Linked DNA regions of Homo sapiens: region 1 is linked to region 2. The links are contacts of gene promoters, found by promoter capture Hi-C in blood cells and fetal thymus (Javierre and others, 2016). All regions are on one chromosome and are shown on one strand. Each heading gives the region's core, a stretch centred on a gene start or on the middle of the fragment in contact. The rest is flanking DNA. Distances are from core to core; before and after follow the strand shown. Region 1 holds the start of YBX3 (Y-box binding protein 3). Region 2 holds the start of LOC440084 (a long non-coding RNA gene).

Region 1 (5,745 bases), core at 1,775-4,274, 760 kb before region 2:
CTGAAGTTTGCTAGACTGATACACTTGGGAAAATACTTTAGCTCTCTTTGTTGGGGGAAAGAAAATCCAAAACAAAAAAAACATGTCTTTATATCTCCAAAGTTATGCAGTCTACACTGATGAGGCATTCTCCAGCTTTAATTCCAAAGATCTCTCATCTCTCCAAAGGAGAGATCAAACCCAGGCCATCTTACGTTTGAGGCCACTCTGATTGGAGCAGCAAGGCAAAGGAGAAAAAAACAGTTGATGTTTTCGATGCAAATGTACACAGTAGAGGCCTGTTTTTGATACATTATATGCATTTAAGTCAGGCAATATTCCAAATAATATGCGTTTAGTGCCTCTTTTCATTTGCCCAAAAAATTAATTACCTGGGAAAATATAAAGACTGGAACTGTTTTTAATATCTAGCATTGTTGAAGGAATAATCTTGATTAAAATGACAATACTAATAATAAAGGAAAAAGATGATAAATAATTCTCAGGTCTAACCTCAATCCAAGCTGAAGGTTATTTTTACTCTCCAATGTAGTTTAAAAAAGTTTCGTAATTCCGCAAATACTTCTCCAAGGACTTCTTATGATCAAATTCATTCCCACGTCTTGCTTTAAACCATAAACCCACTTCATATACACTAAGGGGAAGGGTTGGGGAGGAAGACCATAGATTTCCATAACATTTATCAGAAGGAAAATTTTTTTGCACTCATGAAAACTATTTTTCCTGGCCTATGTGCTTATAAACTCAAGTGAAGGCCCATTTGCAAATACTAGAACATATCCATTTTAGTCAGCATTGTGCCTAGTACATCTTAGGCATCTATGTGTTTGCTTGGCAAAGGAAAGGGGATGGCAGGACACACTAGACAGAGACAAACAGTGTTGAGGTGTCACGTAGAAAGGGCTGTCCTTCATTTTTAGAGAGACGCAGTAAGAGTGGAAAGATAAAAGGCATCAGACTCATCACCAGGGATCTGCAGAGGCAGTTGCTTGAGGAAATTAACCTTCATTTATCTGTTTCCTTCATCTTTAAAGATAGTATCTGCTTTCCCAATCTCAGAACAGTACAGGATTAAGTGAAAAACCGCAAAAGCTTTCTACAAAATAAGGTATCATTAACAATGTTATCCTAACACTGCTTTGGAGAACACAAGGTTTTCTCTCTCAGACATCTGGCAGAAAGTGTTCCAAGAAATATTTGCTAGAAACAACATCACAATGTACTACTGACTAGATTTAAGCAACTTTTAGTCCAGCAAAATCAGGCCTATTTTGTTTCTTAACCTACACAGGTTACAATTAGCATGTTGTTTGGTAGGGACTTAGTAAAAGCCCTAGAAAAAAAAAACAAGAAAATAGTCCTCTCAAGGTGGGGAATATTGAATACACTTCTCTCACATTGCTCCCTCAACTTTCTTCCCAAAGGGGAAGTAGGGCTCAGAGAGATGAGACAAACATGCCCCACCCCAAATAGTGAAGAGGTCTCCGAAGCATCCTACACCATCTGTTAACGTTCCTGTTTATAAGAGCGAACGATATGGACACACACCCTTTAGGGAGGTTATTCACCACCCACCTGCTTTGCAAGCGTTTAAGAACTCACACAGGGGCGTTACTTACGAAAAGAACGCTTGTTATGTGACTAAACCAACAACCATCACAGAAACCCTTTCCATCCACTGCCCCCCCAAATCTCAACATTTCATCTTCCTGTTTCCCTTCCTACGTTACAAGTGCCAAGGTAACAATGTTTTGAACTAACGTCATACCCCCACTTCCGACAAAGTTTTTTCAGCTGCTACACCACGTGCGTTCCCACAGTCCGGGAAGAGGGAAGCGTGTAGCCATTGGTGGACACTGAATGGCTGTTTGCAGCCGTGGGCACAGAGAGGGGGAGGAAGACGTGGGACTAAGACCCAAGTTTCCCGGAGACGATTGCAACATCTCTTTGCTGGCATGTGGCCAACAGGAGCATGGCGTCTTTCCCATGCCCATGTGGGAAGGGCGTCAGGGACAGACACCTGACCCTTCCTGGCAAGAAGCTTTTCTATCTTTCCCTCCCCGTCTCCTTCTAGCGCCCTCCTCTTCCCCAAAGGAAATGCTCTCCTTTCCCAGATCCCAAGCAAGGACCCCAAAGCGCCAGGCCCACGTGTCGGTCCTTCCCCTACATCCATCCCTACCCAAGGTCCCCTCTCCCAGACTGCCTCTCCTTTCTTCTCCAAACGCAGGCATTTTCCACCACGCGAATCCGCAACAGTGCCCGTCTGGGAGACAGAAGTTAAGACCTAAACTTTCTGGCCCGGAACCAGAAGGGAGATGCACACGGCCGCCAGGAGCGCAGGGCGCAGCGCGCTCACCTGGGAGCGCCGGCAAGGGAGGCGGCCAGCGCTGGGGACCCGGAGACCCCTGGGGACCCGGAGATCCCTGGGGACCCTGTGCTGTCAGCGTCTCCAGCCCGGGTGGGAGATGTAGCGCGAGCTGCCCACACGTGCTCCGCGGCCGGCTGGGCCCGCCCCACTACGGCAGCCCCTGCCCTCCCTGGCCTGACTCACCGAGAACTTTTTTCTCCGCGTCTTCGCTGCCGGCGGCGGTGGCTAAAGAGGCGGCGGCCGCGGTGCCCGTGGCTGCGGGGGCCGCGTCCCCACCGGGGTTTCCTGCGACGTGGGCGGCGGGCGCCGGGGCCGCGGCCTGGGGCGCACCGCTGCCCACCGGGCTCTTGGGCGCGGGGTCCTGGGGAGCCGCGGCGGCCGCCTCCGTCGGAGCCTGCGGGAGGGTGGTGGTGGTGGTGGTGGTGGCCTCGCCCGCCTCACTCATGCCTCCTCCTCCTCTGCTCTCGCTCAGGCGCCTCGGTGGCGGTTGGTCGGCGGTTAGCGCGGCTGGTGGTCGCGGCGGCCGGGGCTCGCTCTCGGGGAGGCCGGGGCGGATCTCGCGGCGCAGGCGGCGGCGGCCGAGGTGGGGTCGCGCGGCGGAGGCGGCTCGAGCTTCGTGCTGCGCGCTCTCTCTTGGGCTCCTCGCTCGATCTTACTGCCCCAAAAATGGCCCCGCACAAGTTTTTCTAGGCGGCGCACCGGCCCGGGAGGGAAGGGCGGGCGAGGGGAGAGGGTGGGGAAACTTGGCTCGGGAGTCGGGCCCTGGACTCTCATTAGCATTTAAAGGCGCCCGGTGCGCTTTCTATGGCTCCAATCCGCCGGGACGCGAGCGCGCGGGTCGCGTTGCAGAACCAAGGAAAGCCAGGGTGAACGGGGCGCCCGGGTTGTCTTCTGGAGCGTTCCGAGGAGCCCGCGCTGCTGACCCTTTGTTGGAGCGGGGTGCATTGGCTCTCCTCCCTCAACCCGTCTTGACACCCGCAGCTGACAAGGAGAGGTAAAATAGGGCACCCAAACTACTCTGCGCTTTACCCTCTCAAACACTTGTTTTTAAATCCTTTGCATCTAGTCAGTCATTCAACATGTATCAAGCACCAGCAGCTATTCGTAGCACAGCTGTTAAGACCTGGAATAATAAAACCTTAAGACTATTTGGCAACTTACTCCTGAAAGGTAATATACGGATAATTTCATCTGTAACACGCAGATGAGGAAATTGACCTCACAGATTTAATGTAAATTCAGAGTTTACACCAATTTAACCGCAACAAATAAGGAGCTGTCAATATATATTTAATAAGGAACACACACAAAAAAAGCTGAATAAATCCACTTCCTACCTTCTGCTCCAGTTGCCTCTGCCAGCTGGTGAAAGCTTAAGGAACTGAGCCCTCTTAGCCTCGAGGATGAGAGGTATAGAGAAACAGATCACCCAATAAACATTATTCCCAAGTTGAAGAGCCCACATGCCCTTTGAGAATGGGCTGGATGGTAGTAAACACAGGGCCAGAGGGTCTGGGATCTGTACCCAAAGACTGTCTGGAATACAGGACTATTTGGCCCCTAGGGTTCAGACAGACTAGGTATAAATTCTGGCTTTGTTTTTTATTAACCAGGTTAACTTGGGACAGAGATTCAATGTCCCAGAGTCGGTTTCCTGCTTTATGAGAGGTTCTCAAAGGTGACATGAAAAGTAGATGAGATTATCATGTGTCACTCCAGTGTCCGGTCCACCTAAAGCTCCTTTGTTTTGTTTGTTTTTTAAGTTATTGCCTGTTCCCTCAAACAATTTACCAAATTTTTTTCCAGGAATATGTCTGTAATGTCGATGTCTACCTTAACATCAGTAGGGTAACTATCAAGTGTAATTCATCTTTGTATCTCCACTGGTTAGTACAGTACGTAGCACAGAGTTTGGACATAGTGAATGTTTACAAAATGAAAACAGACCAAATTCTTCCAAACTCAATTACTTATCTGCACATTTGCTATCAATTATTATGAAACTTTCCTGAATTCTTACTTTCTTATTTCATCCACAAAAAACACAAAGAAAATAAGTTATTTGAAAAAATAGCAAATTATGTAATTTTGAGCTTTTCTATGTAATTCATCAATATTTAAAAAATTACAAACTCTTAAATGTTAGATTCATATTTTAGTTTGACTTCAGTATGGAGCATACAGTGATGTTATATAAATGTAGATGCTTTTAAAATGCTGGTCTAATTCTAAGAATGATTAAATTATTTCTTCATGTGAAAGATTATGGTCTTAATTACAATTAAATTATAAACATGATTTATTCTGGTGAGGACTGACCATTGACTTTCTTATTCAGCAAAATGATTATCATTGCTATTTACCTTTCAGAATTACATTACAAGAAAAAAAAGTAAGGAGATTGAACTCTTCAAACCGATCCAACAGTAAAGCCTTTTAAAAAAATTCATCCTTGGAAGTAATTCATAACTAACAGGTGTGATCTCCAACCTCTGGAAGACCCTAAAATAATTACAGATGCACCCTGGGATTTCCTAGAATTTGTGCTGGACTGGCTTCCAAAACTACTCATCATTGTCATCCAAACAAAGCAGTGAGCAGCTGGAAGTTGTTGGTATTGTACTAAATAAATCTAAAGAAAATTAGAACAAATATGATCTATGTTTTAATAATCATAAGTAGGAAGCAACTTGGATACAGATACACATAAATTTATCCATTCCTTCATTCACTAATTCATACACTCATATTTGCTAAGCAAATGCTATGTCCCGGACAAAGTACACCATTGTGAGTATCCAATGTTGACCAAAATGGAGCCGGTTGTAAGGTCTTTTGATATGATGTTAAAATTATTTTTCACTATCAACATTTCTATTGTAAGACAATATCATCATTTACTAAGTTTAAGAGTAAGTCAACAAAGAATTATAATCTAATTGCTGACAGCAGTCATTTTTAAGCAATTATTGGTTTGATCATAAAAACAAATGCCACTCTGTTCCTAGTATGGAGGAAGTTAAAGCTCTCACAACTGTTGGAAGGGCTGAAGGAGGGAAACTCAGAGAAGCTCCACTGAAGATCTCAGCCTCCAGTCCCCAAGACAGTGGTTCTCAGGAGTTCTCCTGAAGCCACTGGAGCCACAAGATCTTTCGGAAGTTCTCAGCAATTCAGGGCTGGATTCAGGTTTTGTGATGCTTAAAACTAATACAATTTAGAGAGCCCTTTTTGAGATAAAATAAAGTTATGAATACTAAAATGCTAGGACTGCTCCCAGAGTCTTCGAAAGGGTCCGTGCAAGACAGGAGCCCTGAAATTTAAACTTCATTAGCTTTACTCCTGCACCTGCTATCTCAGTCAGCAACACCGATGCAGTA
Region 2 (5,587 bases), core at 2,734-5,233:
ATGAGAAAACTGAGGCTCAGAGAGGTTAAGGGGATAGGCCCACGTTACATAGCCGGACAGAAGCAGAGCTGGGATTTTCCCTGTTGTTGTTGTTGCCTGTTGCTAGACACGGCCTTGCTCTGTCACCCAGGCTGGAATACAGTGGTGTGATCTTGGCTCACTGCAACTCATGCGACCCTCCCCGCTCAGCTTTCTGTGTAGCTGGGACTACAGGTACCCACCACCACACCCAGCTAATTTTTGTGTTTTTTGTAGAGATGAGGTTTCACCATGTTCTTGGGCTCAAGCCATTCACCCACCTCAGCTTTCCAAAGCACTGGGCTTACAGGCATAAGCCACCACTCCTAGCCTAGAGCTGGGATTTTAATCCATGCCTTCTGAAGGCAAATACTTATTCTTTTCATCACATCTGTTTGGTATATCAGCAGAAATCATTAAGACAAATGGGACTCACCACTGAAAAAAGGTACAAATATAACACATAAGAAAGTGTGGTATAAATAACAGATCCAAATTTAAAATATATATATTTAGAAAACCTTTATATCAACCAGCTTTCTAGATATTACTGAATATACTATGCTTGTGGATTTAAAATGTATCTAGGAAATACAAGCCCACGTCCTCACAGGTGCCTCCTAGGAAAAACCGGCAGGTTTGTGTTTGTTTTGTTTTTAATGATCTAAAAGAATTCAGCAGATAAATGTTTCCCCATATACCTGAAAAACCCACTCATCCTCTTAAGGCAGGTCACAAAACTGAAGAATTTTTAAACAAAGCAGAAATTTTAATCCAAATCTTTCTCCTATTCTGTTGGTGATAAACCGACTAAAAACAAAAGAACAAAACCACTGTTCTTTAAAGTTTAAACTTTCATCTGCACTCATTCTTTTTTTTTTTTTTTTAGACAGAGTCTCGCTCTGTCACCCAGGCTGGAGTGCAGTGGCGTGATCTCGGCTCACTGCAACCTCCACCTCTCAGGTTCAAGCGATTCTCGTAACTCAGCCTCCCGAGTAGCTGGATTACAGGCGCTCACCACTACGCCAAGCTAATTTTTTGTATTTTTAATAGAAAAGGGGTTTCTATTAAAAATGTTGACCAGGCTGGTCTCGAACTCCTGACCTTGTGATTCACCCACCTCGGCCTCCCAAAGTGCTGGGATTACAGGCAAGAGCCGCCGCGCCCAGCCTGCACTCATTCTTTAGAAGAATAATGCCCAAGACCACAGCCTGCAATGTGCACACAGTCACCTGGGCATCTTGTGAAAATGCGGATTCTGATTCTACGGGACTGAGGTGGGGCCTGAGACCCTGCATTTTAAACCAACCCCACACTCTGAGTAGCAAAGCCCTAAAATACTTTTGTTTGTTTAGGTTGACATATATTGTCAAATGCCGGCTTCTCTCAAACACCAGTGAAAGAACCTTTTCATAAGGCAAAGTTGAGTTTATTGCTCACCGCCATAGGGAGATGGCTACTGTGAACTGCTGGTCCCCAACCTTTTTTGGCACCAGGGACAGCTTCCATGGGACAATTTTTCTCCGGATGGGGTGGTCAGGTGGGGATAGTTTGGGGATGAAACTGTTCCACTTCAGATCATCAGACATTAGATTCTCATAAGGAGCACACAACCTAGATCCCTCACATGCACAGTTCACAATAGGGTTCGCACTGCTATGAGAATCTAAAGCTGCTGCTGATCTGACAGGAGGCGGAGTTCAGTCAGTAATGCTCACTTGCCTGCTTCCCACCTCCCGCTATGCAGCCTGGTTCCTAACAGGATACCTTTAGGTAAAGTTATTGCAGGGGTAGGAGACCCCTGCGGTAAACCAAAAATAGAATTTGAAGGCCCCTGGCAACGATCTGAATGGACTAACTCTTTGGCCAGGGCATGTAAAATTTAACCTGAAAGACTGGCTCAGGCCGTGACGGGAAGTGAGGGTTGGACATGCCTCATTAACATTAACACAGACCTTAAGTCTGATAAGAAATACTTACAATCTATTTTTCTTTAAAGCCTGCTACCTGGAGGCTTCATCTTCATGATAAAACCGTGGTCTCTACAACCCCTCCTGGTAACCCAGACATTCCTTTCGTAACTCTTTCAACCAATTCCCAATCAGAATATGTTTAAACCTACCTATGACCCGGAAGCTCCTCTTCTCTCCTCACCCTTCGAATTGTCCCACCCTTCCAGACCGAACCATGTAAATCTTCCGCATATTGATTGATGTCTCATTCTCCTAAAATTTATAAAAGCAAGCTGTACCCCAACCACCTTGGACACATGCTGTCAGGACCTCCTGAGGCACGTCCTTAACCTTGGCAAAAAAAAAAACTTTCTAAGTTGACTGAGACCTGTCTCAGATATTTTGGGTTCACACTATCTAGATTCTTAGTAGTGTCTCAAAGCCAGGTGCCAAAGTTGGGATATTTATAACATTGAAGGTGGGTCTTTCAAGGTGGGGGCATGAGGTTGATCAGAATTTGGTAAAGATCGTGATGTGGTAATTAAGGATCAGTAAATGCCATGGATTTTGAAGAGTCCTGAGGAGTAAAAGGTTGTTCAGCGCTATCAGCGGGAAAGTTGAACAGTCTGGTTTTCTCAAGGGTTGTTTTCTGGGGAATTTCCTGAAACAAAAAACAGTTACTTGCAATTTTTATCTTTCTGGACGAGAGTTTCCTGGAATAGCTGACTTTTGTTGAAGACAGTGAATAGTACAGTCATTGACAGTAAGCTGTCTGGGTGTCCATGCTTTCCGGTTTTAATACAAATCTGCACTCACATAAAATAGTGATTGCGCATCCGTTGTGACGTGGCGCTTTGGTGTCAGACAGCACCACCTGCTGGCTCATGAGGGTTAAAAACGTTTAGAACTGCAAAAGTTACTTTTAACAGCAGGGCTCTGCTGCCACCTATCGGTTTATTTTTAAACTTTTCAAATGTTTTTCTTTTATTTAATACAGGTCTACTATACTAAGCACCAATCATTCAAAAAAAAACAGGTGCTATAAGTAGAAATGTAGCGCAATATTGTGGAGGCGGACATGAAGGCAGGTGAGGTCCTGGTGAGGTGGTAGAAAGATGATTAAGGACAGGATACAGTGTACAGCCCAAAGGACAGAGTTGTCTATCTACTACGGATGACCAGTGTGGGGGCAGTTAGGGAAGCTTTACAGAGGTAAGGAACCCTAAGGTGTCTCTTGAATAAGAATTGACAAGTAGATATGAGAAGGAGGAGTTAGGAATTCCAGGCAGAAATACAGGCAATGTGAAGATATTGTGCTAGCTGGGTGATTTAGCGTGGCTGAACCACGAGGTGTAGCAACAGGTCCCAAGAGAGACATAGGAGGCCAGATCATGGAAGGCTTCATATGCCTGACTAAGGAGGTTATCCTGGAGGCAATGACTGGGGAATCACTGATGAGTATTAAGCAGGGAAAATACAGGATTAAATCAGTTTACAAACACCACTTCAGCAGAAGCATAGAGAATAGATTGGAAGAAAGTGAAATCGAAATTTGGTACATCAGTTTGGAGTCTTTTTTGTTACAAGTCATATAAACCTATTCTGCTCACTTAAATAAAAAGAGAAATTTATTGGAGATGTATCAAAAATGCGCCAAGTTATCAAGATGCTGGAAGATCAGACTAGGAAATGGGCAGGAGCATAGCTAGTTTGGAGTACGCACAGCAGCCGTCTCATGAATCTGACAGGCTTCTGCTGCAATAGGTCATCGCTGCCACCACTGCCCTGAATTAGTCCTAATCACCCCAGTGGGATCCCAGCTTGGCAGCTTTAGGCCATTTGCCCTTGCCTTGGTAGCCAGGTAGCAGAGTAAGGAATAATGAGCTGCTATGACTTCATAAAATGAGCATTAGTTAGGGTATCTGTCTGGCCACAGTAACAAAGACCAAAATTAACAATGACGCAAACCGAAGTGTATTTCTTCCTCCTACGAAGGCCCAAGTTGGTTTGGCAGCTCTTTGTGAAGCTATTGCTGGCCCAGCCTGCCTCTGCCTTTTCACTCTGCAATACTTCACGGGTTCCGTTGCACAGCCCAAGATGGCTCCTCCGATTCCCACCATCACTTTTCCATTCCAGCTAGCAGGAGCAAGGGGGAAAAATAAGATGGCATGTTCCTTTCTTTTAAGAGCACAACCTGGATGTGGCATATCTCTCTTCTAGTCACATGCCATTGTCCAGAACTTCATGACATAGCCACACCTAGCTACAAGAAAAACTAACAAAGTCAGGATCCTGTGTGGCCATGTGGGCAATTAAAATCCTACTACTAGGAAGAAGGGAAATGGGTATTGGAGGAACAACTAGAGGATCCCCAAAATAGGAAGTAAGAGGCTAGATTCTGGAATGGTCAAAAAATAAAAGATAAACGTCCAGTACAGGTGGTAGACTCTGTGTAAGAGATCAGAGGGATCAGAAATAAGGCAGGGAACAGGAGGATGGGAGCAAATGTTTTGAAATAATATGAAGAACTTAGATTCTTCAGGATTTGGAGCCTGATTTTATATAGGTGATAAGAGAAAAGGAGAGAAAGTTGAATCTCAATTTTCTGACCTTGGTGACGGAATAGATCTTTGTGCCATCCCCAAATAAGAAATATAATGGGAAGCATACATGTTTCAGAAAGGTCTACCTACCATTCCACTGGAGATGCCCAGTAGGTGGCCAAATATATCGTTTTTGACACAAGACAGATGGATTTGGTAATTGTCAGCATACTGGTGGTAGCTGAAGGTGTGGAAGATGATTACTTCACCAGGGAAGAACATGAAGCTTGAGACTAAAACAGGACTGAGGATGGAGGATTAAATTAATTTGTGAGCATACAATCAGAGTTAACCAAACCTGTTAACCAACCCCAGAGCTACAAGGAAAGCTATCAGAGCATAGTGCCAGTGATAACAGCTAGGTGAGCCACCTTCCAGTGTATCCCTGCCTTTTAACTCATCTTTTGTAAGCTAAAACATTGAAAAAGATACTCACCAGAAAGAAATACAAAATTTTCTTTAGATGCTGCCTAGAATGAGTACCTCAGCAGTGGAAATTATCACTGACATGATACAATTCAAGGAGTCAAAAAGGAGGCTGCTTTGGGCCATTCCTTCCCCACTGAAGTGACAAACCATTATTAACAGGAAATTTCTTTGTGTTAAGCATCTTTCACTGGAGGCTCATTCCCACAGAGGACTAACCCATTAAACTTCAAATATCTTGGGTAGTTTTTTTTCCAAATCATTTTTCTATCTGAAAGGAGAGGAAGAGGGAGCTCTGAAGAAGGGTTGAAGGCTACAAATAAAGGCTATCCTGTAGAATTTACTGCTTTACAATCTCTGGTTTATTACAGCTACTTCCATCTAGTAGTACTCTCTGTAGAACCTGAAAAACATAGATACAGTGGTCATTACAACAAAGTAGAACAATTTTGCTTCATAAATGTTTAGTCAATAATAGATGGGATCCTCATGCCCTTCACCATCAAGAAGTTTGCTCAACAGGTCAGTCTTTTTCTGTGAAAATAAAATAAACTGTTTTTATTTTTTAATCCCAGTATCCATCCTTAG

Evidence for each region. Contacts are between HindIII fragments. The CHiCAGO score rates a contact against its expected background, and 5 or more counts as called.
Region 1: a contact is called between the fragment with the promoter of YBX3 here and a fragment that was not itself captured in region 2, in 6 of 17 cell types (fetal thymus, total CD4 T cells, M1 macrophages and 3 more). The highest score is 7.2, in fetal thymus.

Annotation. Positions count from the first base shown.
Region 1 is chr12:10,720,299-10,726,043 of GRCh38, forward strand. YBX3 (Y-box binding protein 3) reads right to left here and starts at 3,025. Exons shown (of 10, transcript NM_003651.5): 1 at 2,552-3,025. The coding sequence starts at 2,813. It overlaps LOC124902876, which reads left to right and starts at 2,754. Exons shown (of 2, transcript XM_047429946.1): 1 at 2,754-3,362; 2 at 4,739-5,020. The coding sequence starts at 2,812. The coding sequence ends at 4,808. RefSeq lists silencers at 2,271-2,670, 2,801-2,900, 2,921-3,140. The HindIII fragment of the contact is 1,699 bases long and covers 2,040-3,738 here.
Region 2 is chr12:11,483,909-11,489,495 of GRCh38, forward strand. LOC440084 (a long non-coding RNA gene) reads right to left here and starts at 2,770. Exons shown (of 5, transcript NR_148969.1): 1 at 2,656-2,770; 2 at 2,141-2,243. The HindIII fragment of the contact is 1,627 bases long and covers 3,171-4,797 here.